3 separate regions of the Homo sapiens genome follow, and all the other regions are linked to region 1. Evidence: promoter capture Hi-C in 16 types of primary human blood cells and fetal thymus (Javierre and others, 2016). All regions are on one chromosome and are shown on one strand. The core of a region is centred on a gene start or on the middle of the fragment in contact, and the rest is flanking DNA. Distances in the headings are between cores, read along the strand shown.

Region 1 (2,953 bases), core at 246-2,745:
CTCCCGGGTTCAAGTGATTCCAGTTGGTGCCTCAGCCTCCCGAGTAGCTGGGATTACAGGCACATACCACGACGCCTGGCTAATATTTGTATTTTTAGTAGAGATGGGGTTTCGCTATGTTGGCTAGGCTGGTCTCCAACTCCTGACCTGAGGTGATCTTCCTGCCTCCGCCTTCCAAAGTGCTGCGATTACAGGTGTAAGCCACCGGGCCCGGCCTTAATTTTTAAATTTTTTGTAGAGATGGGGTCTGGCTATGTTGCCAGTGCTGGTCTCAAACTCCTGGGCTCAAGTCTCACTCTGCTGCAGAGGCTGGAGTGCAGTGGTGTAATAATCTTAGGTCACTGCAATCTCAAAGGATTCGAGTGACACTCCCACCTTAGTCTCCTGAGTAGCTTGTCCTAGCTACTCCCTAGCCACCAGGCCTGGCTAATTTTTAAATGTTTATAGAGATCAGGTTTCTCTCTCTTGCCCAGGCTGGTCTCAAACTCTTGGGCTCAAGCAACTCTCCTGCCTTGGCCTCCCAAAGTGTTGGGATTACAAGCGGGAGCCACTGCACCCGGCCTTAAGACTTTTTTTAGGTTAAATTTTTTATTTTTAGAAAATTTCAAACATACACAAAAGTAGAAAGTACAACGACAATTCTCCCCCTACCTCCATATACCAATCATCTCCATCTGGCTTCCACAATTACCAATTCTTGGCCAGTGGTGTTGGAGCCACGCTTCCAATCACACCTCACCCGACGTCGGATTACTTTGAAGGTTGTGGGAAAGCACAGAAATTGAGTAAGGACTTTGAAAGGAGCCTGGCTGGATTTCGGACTTTGGGGGAAACGGGAGTTACAATGAAATGAAGGAATCGTTAGATTGGGATAAGTTTGCATGAGGCAGGTAGAAGTTTAGCCTGGAAAGGTAGGAGGATTCGTCTAGAGAGCAAGGGAAGGCTCAGCTTGGTACAGGGAAGGAGGTAATTTGAGAAGGGCTGGTCTGAGGCAATGCAGGAATTAGGCCGGGGTAGAGAGGTTTCTGTTAATTTGAGAGTTAGCCTGGTAAGGAAATGAATTAGGGACATGGAAAGGATTGGTCTGGAACTGGGAAGAGGTTAATTTCGGGGGGAAGGAATGGAGGAAAAGAAGGTCAGCCCGCGACAAGGGAGGGAATAATCTGGGCAAAGTAGTGAAGAGGACCGGTAAAGCTGAGGGGGGTGGGTGTCCCCCTAAAACGAGTCCTACTTCGCGTTCCTGGGGGAATCATTTCCTAGAGACACCGCAACCGCACCCACCCGCCGCCTGCGCGTGACCAAGATCTCACCCTTATCGGGTTCCTTCGCCGCCGTCGCCGTCGCCACGGCCTCCATCCTGATTCTCTCGGACTTTTCAACCGCCCGGCGGGCCCCGCACACTAACCTCCGGCCCACGCACGCAAGAGACACTTTCGCCTGAGAATGTTCCGGGTCCGGGTGCACCGCTGCGCCCAGGCACCGAAGTTCCGGGCCTAAGGCAGACGTTGCATTGCGCATGCGTGCCTCTCTCGGGCTCCGCCCTCCGCAGCCAGGAAGGAAAGGGGCTCCCCGGAGAGTGAGAGACCCTTAAACCTCTCCTGTCAGTCAGTAGGAACCAGAATCATTGTTCGTTTTATCACTGCTGTGACTCCAGCTCCCAGCGTGCTTAATTTTGGGATGGATGGCTAAAGGACTTTCCCCCGGAGCCTGGAGCCGTCATACGCTGAGGGTTCGTGCTCTCGTTTAGACCCCCGCTTGTCCTTTTCCTTTCTTAACTCCTTCAGGAATTCAGGAATATTACTAAGCCTTGACTCTTTTTTTTTTTTTTTTTTTTGAGACAGGGTCTCGCTTTGTCGCCTAGACGAATGCAGTGGCGCGATCACAGTTCAAGTAACCTCACATTCCTGTGCTCAAGTGATCCTCCTGCCTCAGCCTTTGGAGTACTTGGGACTACAGGCGCGCACAACCGCGCCCGGCTAATTTTTAAAATTTTTTTGTAGAGCCAGGGGTCCCACTTTGTTGCCCAGGCTAGTCCCCAACTCCTGGCCTCAAGCAATCCTCCCGCTTCAGCCTCTCAAAATGCTGGGATTACGCGCGTGAGCCACCAGCCTGGCTTACTTCCGTCATCATACCCTGTCTCTGGCTGGCATGAGATGGATAGTGAGATAGAACTTCCCATTTTGTGTTCCCAGGACCTGGAGGAAATCTACAGGTGTGAAACAAGACAACTCTGGTCCTTATTTCCCTATGGGATGGGTGGGGCTCTATTTAGGTGTTACCAGCAGAGTAGACAGACATGTCACTCAGTGGCCAGGGCTTTGATGGATCCAGAGGGCTGAGGGAGCTGTCCACCCCAGGCTGGAGGGTCAAGGAAGCCTTCTTTCTGGGAGGGTACCCTCAAGCTAAGACCTGAAGAACGAGTAGGAGCTGGGTTAAGAGGAAGGTAGGGAAGAGTCTTGAGGAGGATGGCACGTACGGACGGTTCTGGTTGCTGCAAGCACTTCACTACGGTCAGGGCATAGGAAAGGAGCTCTAACTTGAAAGCCATGATTGGGCTGTGGAGGTTTTGAGAACCTCATGAATTTTTATGCAAAATTCCATGTACCTCTGTATTCTCCAATGCAGTGGTTCATGGCATCATTTGTGGGTTCCAAAAAGGACTTATGGCTCCTCAGAACAAAATAAACACTGATTTGATATTCAAAGGGGGAGCAGAAAGAGAGGGCGCCAGCGATGTTACCAGGTGCTAGGCCATGCAGGGCCTCATAAGCCATAGTAAGTGGCTTGACCTCCTTTATTCTGAAGGGAGTGGGCATCAAGGGACTGGAGATGAGACGTGTGAGAAAAACTGGCTGAGAACAGAGGAAGAGCTTCCCCATTTGCATTCCCTTGAGGTCTGGAGTTGTGGAAGAAAGCCAAGGAGGTCCCTATTTACCAACCCAGATTCCTAGGC
Region 2 (2,982 bases), core at 104-2,603, 650 kb after region 1:
GCGGTGGAGTTTGGAGCAATGTTTTGCGGGCAGGGGGCGGATCTCACAAAGTTCATTCTCAAGGATGGGAAGAATTACAAAGAAACTTCTTAAGGGTGGGGGAGATTACAAAGTACATTGATCATTAGGGTGGGGCAGAAACAAATCACAATGGTGGAATGTCATCAGTTAAGGCTATTTTCACTTCTTTTGTGGCTCTTCAGTTGCTTCAGGCCACCTGGATGTATACGTGCAGGTCACAGGCGATATGATGGCTTAGCTTGGGCTCAGAGGCCTGACACTAAATTTTCGTATTTTTTGTAGAGATGGGGGTCTCATTAGGTTTCCCAGGCTGGTCTTGAACTCCTGGACACAAGTGATCCTCCTGCCTCATTCTCCCGAACTGCTGGGATTACAGGCTTGAGCCACCTCACCCGGCCTCAGCTTACACAATTCTGACTGAAATTAAAGCTAAACAAACTTTCCACTCGATGGGTGCCAGAACGGTCGCACCCAGATCAGCTGCAGAGAAGAGCAGAGCTTTCCATGGACATGCTAAACAAGTGAGATCGAGATCCTAATGCATTTCCTTGAAGGATTGTAACGGGAAATGATACATGGTTTCACGGGTGCAATCCTAAAGACAAATCGTAATCAGAGAATGATTGCCAAGAGCGGGGAAGTGATCCAGTCAAGGCAGAAGCACACTGGTCAAGAGCAAAGGTCATAGCAACAGTTTTTGGGGATGCTCAAGGCATTTTGCTGGTTGACTTTCTGTAGGGTCAAAGAATAATAAGATCTGCTTATTATGAGAGTGTTTTGAGAAAGTTAGCCGAAGCTTTAGTAGAAATAAGCCTGGGAAGCTTCACCAGAGAGTTCTTCTCCAGCATGTCTACGCTTCTGCTCATTCTCCTCATCAAACGAGCAATTTTACAAGTTTTGATGGGAAATTATTAGGCATCCACTTGGCAGTCCCAATTTGGCTCCTTCTGACTTTTTGTTTCCTAATCTTAAAATCTTTGAAGGGCACCCATTTTTCTTCAGTTAAGAATGTAAAAAGACTGGGCTGGGCGGAGTGGCTCACGCCTGTAATCTTAGCATTTTGGGAGGCCAAGGAGGGTGGATCACCTGAGGTTGGGAGTTCAAGACCAGCCTGACCAACATGGCAAAACCCTGTCTCTACTAAAAAAAAAAATACAAAAATTAGCCAGGTGTGGTGGCTCATGACTGTAATCCCAGCTAGTCGGGAGGCTGAGGCAGGAGAATCACTTGAACCCAGGAGGTGGAGGTTGCAGTGAGCCGAGATCATGCCACTGCACTCCAGCCTGGGCAACAAGAACAAAAAAAAAAGGCCTGGCACAGTGGCTCACAACTGTAATGCTAGCACTTTGGGAGGCCGAGGCGGGCAGATCACCTGAAGTTAGGAGTTTGAGACCAGCCCGGCCAACTTGGCAAAACCTCGTCTCTACTAAAAAAAAAAAAATTAGCCAGATGTGGTGGTACATGCCTGTAGTCCCAGCTACTCAGGAGGCTGAGGCAGGAGAATGGCTTGAACCCGGGAGGCAGAGGTTGCAGTGAGCCGAGATCATACCACTGCACTCCAGCCTGAGCAACAGAGTGAGATTCCATCAAAAAAAAAAAGAAAGAGAAAATGTAAAAAGGCTGCACTGACATGATTAAATTCCTGGGACCCTCAGTTATTTAGGGATAGACTAAATGGCTGGTATAATGGTTTACAAAAGTGTCTTGACTTTGACCTTGATGGAGTTTATGGTGAGAAATAAAGATTTTTTTAAAATTTTTATCTCTTAATTCCATTCTCCATCAACTTTTTGAATTCCCCTCATAACACAATAGCAATTTGTAGCTCATACCTATAAGCTTAGATAGCATACAGTAGCTCATACCTATAAGCTTAAGTAGACATTTACATAACTTTTAGATATCTATAGTACGTAGATAGCTACAGATCAATGTAGATGTCGAAAGAGAAAGAGCGAGACCAGGCCAGGTGGTTCACGCCTGTAACCCCACTGCTTTGGAAGACTGAAGCAAGGGGATCGCCTGAGGCTGGAGGTTCCAGACCAGCCTAGACAACATAGCAAGAACTCATGTCTACAAAAAAATTCTTTTCATTAGCTAGGTATAGTGGCACACACCTGTAGTCTGGGCTACTCGGGAGGCTGATGCAGGAGGGTCTCCCGTGCCTAGGAGTTTGAGGCTGCAGTGAGCTATGATCGAATCATCGTACTCCACCTGGGCAACAGAGAAAGACCCTGCCTCTTAAAACACAAAGAAATAGGCCCAGCACAGTGGCTCACGTTTGTAATCCAAGCACTTTGGGAGGCCAAGGTGGGGGGAATCACTTGAGCCCAGGAGTTTGAGAACAGCCTGGGCAACATGGTGAAAACCCGTCTCTACAAAAAATACAAAAATTAGCTGGGTGTGGTGGTGGGCACCTGCAGTCTCAGCTACTCAAGAGGCTTAGAAGGGAGGATCGCTTGAGCCTAGCAGGTTGAGGCTGTAGTGAGCTGTGATCACACCACTGCACTCCAGCCTGGGCAACAGAGTGAAACCCCATCTCAAAAACAAACAAACAAACACACACACACAAACCAAAACAAAAACAAAAACACAAAAGGCCAGGTGTGACGGTTCACGCCTGTAATCCAGCACTTTGGGAGGCCAAGGCAGGCGGATCACCTGAGGTCAGGAGGTCAAGACCAGCTGGCCAACGTAACAAAACCCTATCTCCACTGAAAAATACAAAAATTAGCTGGGCATGGTGGTGGGTGCCTGTAATCCCAGCTACTTGGAAGGTTGAAGCAGGGAGAATTGCTTGAACCTGGGAGGCAGAGCTTGCACTGAGATCGCACCATTGCACTCCAGCCTGGGTGACAGAGCAAGACTCCGTCTCAAAACAAAAACAAACAAAAAACTGCAAAAACCTAGTGAATCCATATCCACAGTATATTATTATATCTTCTACTTTTCTTGCAATTC
Region 3 (3,257 bases), core at 18-2,517, 670 kb after region 1:
TTGGGCTTTGTAGACAAGCATAGTTGGTTTTTGTATCTGCATTTATTGTTCTAATGGGAGGAAAAGCAATCGTGGGAGGTTGTTTAAGGCCTGAAGTTATTCAAGATTGGGCGGGAGTCCACCAGCAAAAGCCCAGGATTAGGCAGGAGGAGACCTGGGCTCCAGGCTTGCTCTTCCACTTGGGCCTTCCTCTCTCTGAGCCTCAGCTTCCCCATCTGTAAGATGGGTATGTGAAAACCCCAAGAGTTAACAAAGGCATCCAGGAAGCTCTCAACTGTGGCAGCTCTTTCTTTCTTCTACTTTTTTTTTTTTTTTTTCGAGATGGAGTTTTGTTCTTGCTGCCCAGGCTAGAGTGCAGTGTTGTGATCTCGGCTTACTGTGATCTCTGCCTCCCGGGTTCAAGCGATTCTCCTGCCTCAGCCTCCCGAGTAGCTGGGATTACAGGCATGTGCCACCACACCCGGCTAATTTTGTATTTTTAGCAGAGATGGGATTTCTCTATGTTGGTCAGACTTGTCTCGAACTCCCGACCTCAGGTGATTAGTCCACCTCGCCCTCCCAAAGTGCTGGGATTACAGGCGTGAACCACCGCGCCCGGCCCTCTTCCTTCTTTATTTACAGCTCTGAGGCCGAGTCATCCCAACCCAGGCACTAGCCCTGCACAGAGCAGCCAGCCCTCCTGGTCGCCTGCCCGCTGCTCCCCCACAGACAACCTGACAGTGTTCCGCGCTTTATTTTAAATTATTTTTTATTTTTGGAGACAGGGTCTTACTCTGCTGCCCAGGCTGGAGTGCAGTGGCATGATCACGGCTCACCTCAGATCTCCTGGGATCCAGCGATCCTCCCACCTCAGCCTCCTAAGTAGCCTTGGGAGTACAGGTGGGTGCCACCATGCCTGGCTAATTTTTAATTTTTTGTAGAGACAGGGGTCTCACTATGTTGCCCAGGCTGATCTCGAACTCCTGGGATTAAGCCAGCCTCCCACTTTGGCCTCCCAAAGTGCTGGGATTAGAGATATGAGCCACCACACCCAGCCTATGTTCTGTGTTTTCTACCTTCAATAGCACTCAAATTCTCCCCTTCCCTTGGCGGGGCGTAGTGGCTCACACCTGTAATCCCAGCACTTTGGGAGGTTGAGGTGTGCGGATCACTTGAGGCCAGGAGTTCAAGACTAGCCTGGCCAACATGGCAAAACCCTGTCTCTCCTAAAAATACAAAAAATTAGGCCAGACGTCGTGGCTCATGCCTGTAATCCCAGCACTTTGGGAGGCCGGGGCAGGTGGATCGCTTGAGGTCAGGAGTATGAGACCAGCCTGGCCAATATGGTGAAACCCCGTCTCTACCAAAAATATTAAAAATTAGCTGGGTGTGAGGGTGCGTGCCTGTAATCCCAGCTACTTGGGAGGCTGAGGCAGGAAAATCCCTTGAACTCGGGAGGCAGAGGTTGCAGTGAGCAGAGATCGTGCCATTGCACTACAGTCTTGGAGACAGACTGAAACTCTGTCTCAAAAAAATATAATAAAATAAAATTATCTCCTTCCCCAATCCACAGTCCCCAGGGCCTGCGCCTCCCAGATTCTCCATGGCCCTGTCCATCTCCGCTGCCTGGGTCCCTGCCCGGCCGGCCTCCTCCCTGGACTCCAGCCTGCCCTTATGTCTCCCATGACCCACTCCCACCCAGCCACCCACAAGCACTTTCTAAATCTGACCACAGACCCCCATGTCTCAAAGGATAACTCGAGGCCTGCCAAGCGCCTCCCTTCCCCATAGGACAAAATTATTGCCAGTAATAATCAGGAAATGAAATGAACAATATTAATAGTCAGAAAAGAAATGTAAACAGTGGAGATTTTCTTTTCTTGAACCTCATATACGTAAAGTCTGCCAGTAAAAATTAAATTTAAAAGTAAACATTACAGTACTAAAAAAAAAAAGAAAGAAAAATAGCACTACTATTTATTCAAAGTTTATTGAAAAATTCGAAGTTGGAACTTGGGTTTTTGGGTTACAGTCTGATATAAAATTGTTATGTAAATAGTTGTGAGTTTTTTTCTTCTTGAGGAGAGAGAGACTGGGAGGGAGGGAGGAAACAGGAAGAGAGACAGACAGAGAGACAGACACAGAGTGAGACACAGTTGACCCCTTCACATGGGGCCCTGGGCACTTAGAATTCACCCTGCAAAGCCCCCCCGAAGTCAGGACTTGGTGTGGGGTGTTGCAGAAATGTTTCCTCCCCCTGCCCGGGCTCCGCTGGGAAGCCACGTCCCCCACCCCTGCCCTTCCTCCCACCCACAGCCTGCCTTCTCTCTGGGGACCTCTGTGGAGCTGCCTGGAACATGCGTGGGGTGACATGCATAGCAAGCTGGGGGAAGCAACCAAGGTGGTGGCCAGGCCCCTTGAAGACATAAAAGCACATTGCATTGGGAGGGAGGGACCCCGGGGGGCTGAGAATGTCCTGTTGCTTAAACTGGATGGAGGGGACACTGGGTGGTGGGTGCAGCTCCTCGTTTTCAGCAGTGGTTTCTTGAAGTAGACCCATATTCAGGAAAGTACAAACCGTAAGTGTAACCGCTGGAGGAATTATCACCGATTGAACACACCTGTGTCACCAGCCACCAGCCCAAGAAGCAATATCTCCAGCCCCCCAGAAGCCCCCTCGGCGCTCCCTTATCACCTGCCCTCCCTCCAAGGTCATTATCACCCTCACTTCTGACAGCATAGATTGGTTGTGCCTGTTTTGAATTCATGTAAATGCAATCTGAAAATATGTTCTTTTTAGCATCTGGCTTTTTTCAGTCAGCACCGTGAAAAAAATTCATCCTGGTTGTCGTGTGCAGTTACAGGTTATTCTCATTGCAGCACACACACATTGCAGGCCACTGTGGGATCAGTTTATCCATTCTTCTGCTGGTGGTGAGGGACTGAGCCAAGGGGGCCAGGCGCGGTGGCTCACACCTGTAATCCCAGCACTTTGGGAGACTGAGGTAGATGGATCACTTGAGATCAGCAGTTCGAGACCAGCCTGGCCACATGGTGAAACCCCGTCTCTACTAATAATACAAAAATTAGCTGGGGGTGGTGGCGGGTGCCTGTAGTCCCAGCTACTCGGGAGGCTGAGGCAGGAGAATTGCCTGAACCTGAGAGGAGGAGCTTGCTGTGAGCCGAGATCGTGCCACTGCACTCCAGTCTGGGCAACAAGAGTGAAAAAACTCCGTCTCAAAAAAAAAAAAAAAGAGAAACTGAACCTAGTGGAAAGA

What was found. Contacts are between HindIII fragments. The CHiCAGO score rates a contact against its expected background, and 5 or more counts as called.
Region 2: a fragment that was not itself captured here is called in contact with the fragment with the promoter of CCDC97 in region 1 in 7 of 17 cell types (naive CD4 T cells, total CD4 T cells, naive CD8 T cells and 4 more); the score reaches 10.1 in naive CD4 T cells.
Region 3: a fragment that was not itself captured here is called in contact with the fragment with the promoter of CCDC97 in region 1 in 1 of 17 cell types (naive CD8 T cells); the score reaches 6.0 in naive CD8 T cells.

What each region holds. Positions count from the first base shown.
Region 1 is chr19:41,308,714-41,311,666 of GRCh38, reverse strand. CCDC97 (coiled-coil domain containing 97) reads right to left here and starts at 1,495. Exons shown (of 5, transcript NM_052848.3): 1 at 1,311-1,495. The coding sequence starts at 1,356. It overlaps LOC105372401 (a long non-coding RNA gene), which reads left to right and starts at 1,618. Exons shown (of 2, transcript XR_935968.4): 1 at 1,618-1,729; 2 at 1,842-2,953. RefSeq lists enhancers at 1,160-1,449, 2,723-2,902. The HindIII fragment of the contact is 19,818 bases long and covers 1-2,953 here.
Region 2 is chr19:40,657,271-40,660,252 of GRCh38, reverse strand. No RefSeq gene overlaps it. Among named protein-coding and RNA genes, the nearest start is that of NUMBL, 32 kb to the left of the region's middle. The HindIII fragment of the contact is 1,018 bases long and covers 845-1,862 here.
Region 3 is chr19:40,639,907-40,643,163 of GRCh38, reverse strand. No RefSeq gene overlaps it. Among named protein-coding and RNA genes, the nearest start is that of LTBP4, 40 kb to the right of the region's middle. The HindIII fragment of the contact is 6,260 bases long and covers 1-3,257 here.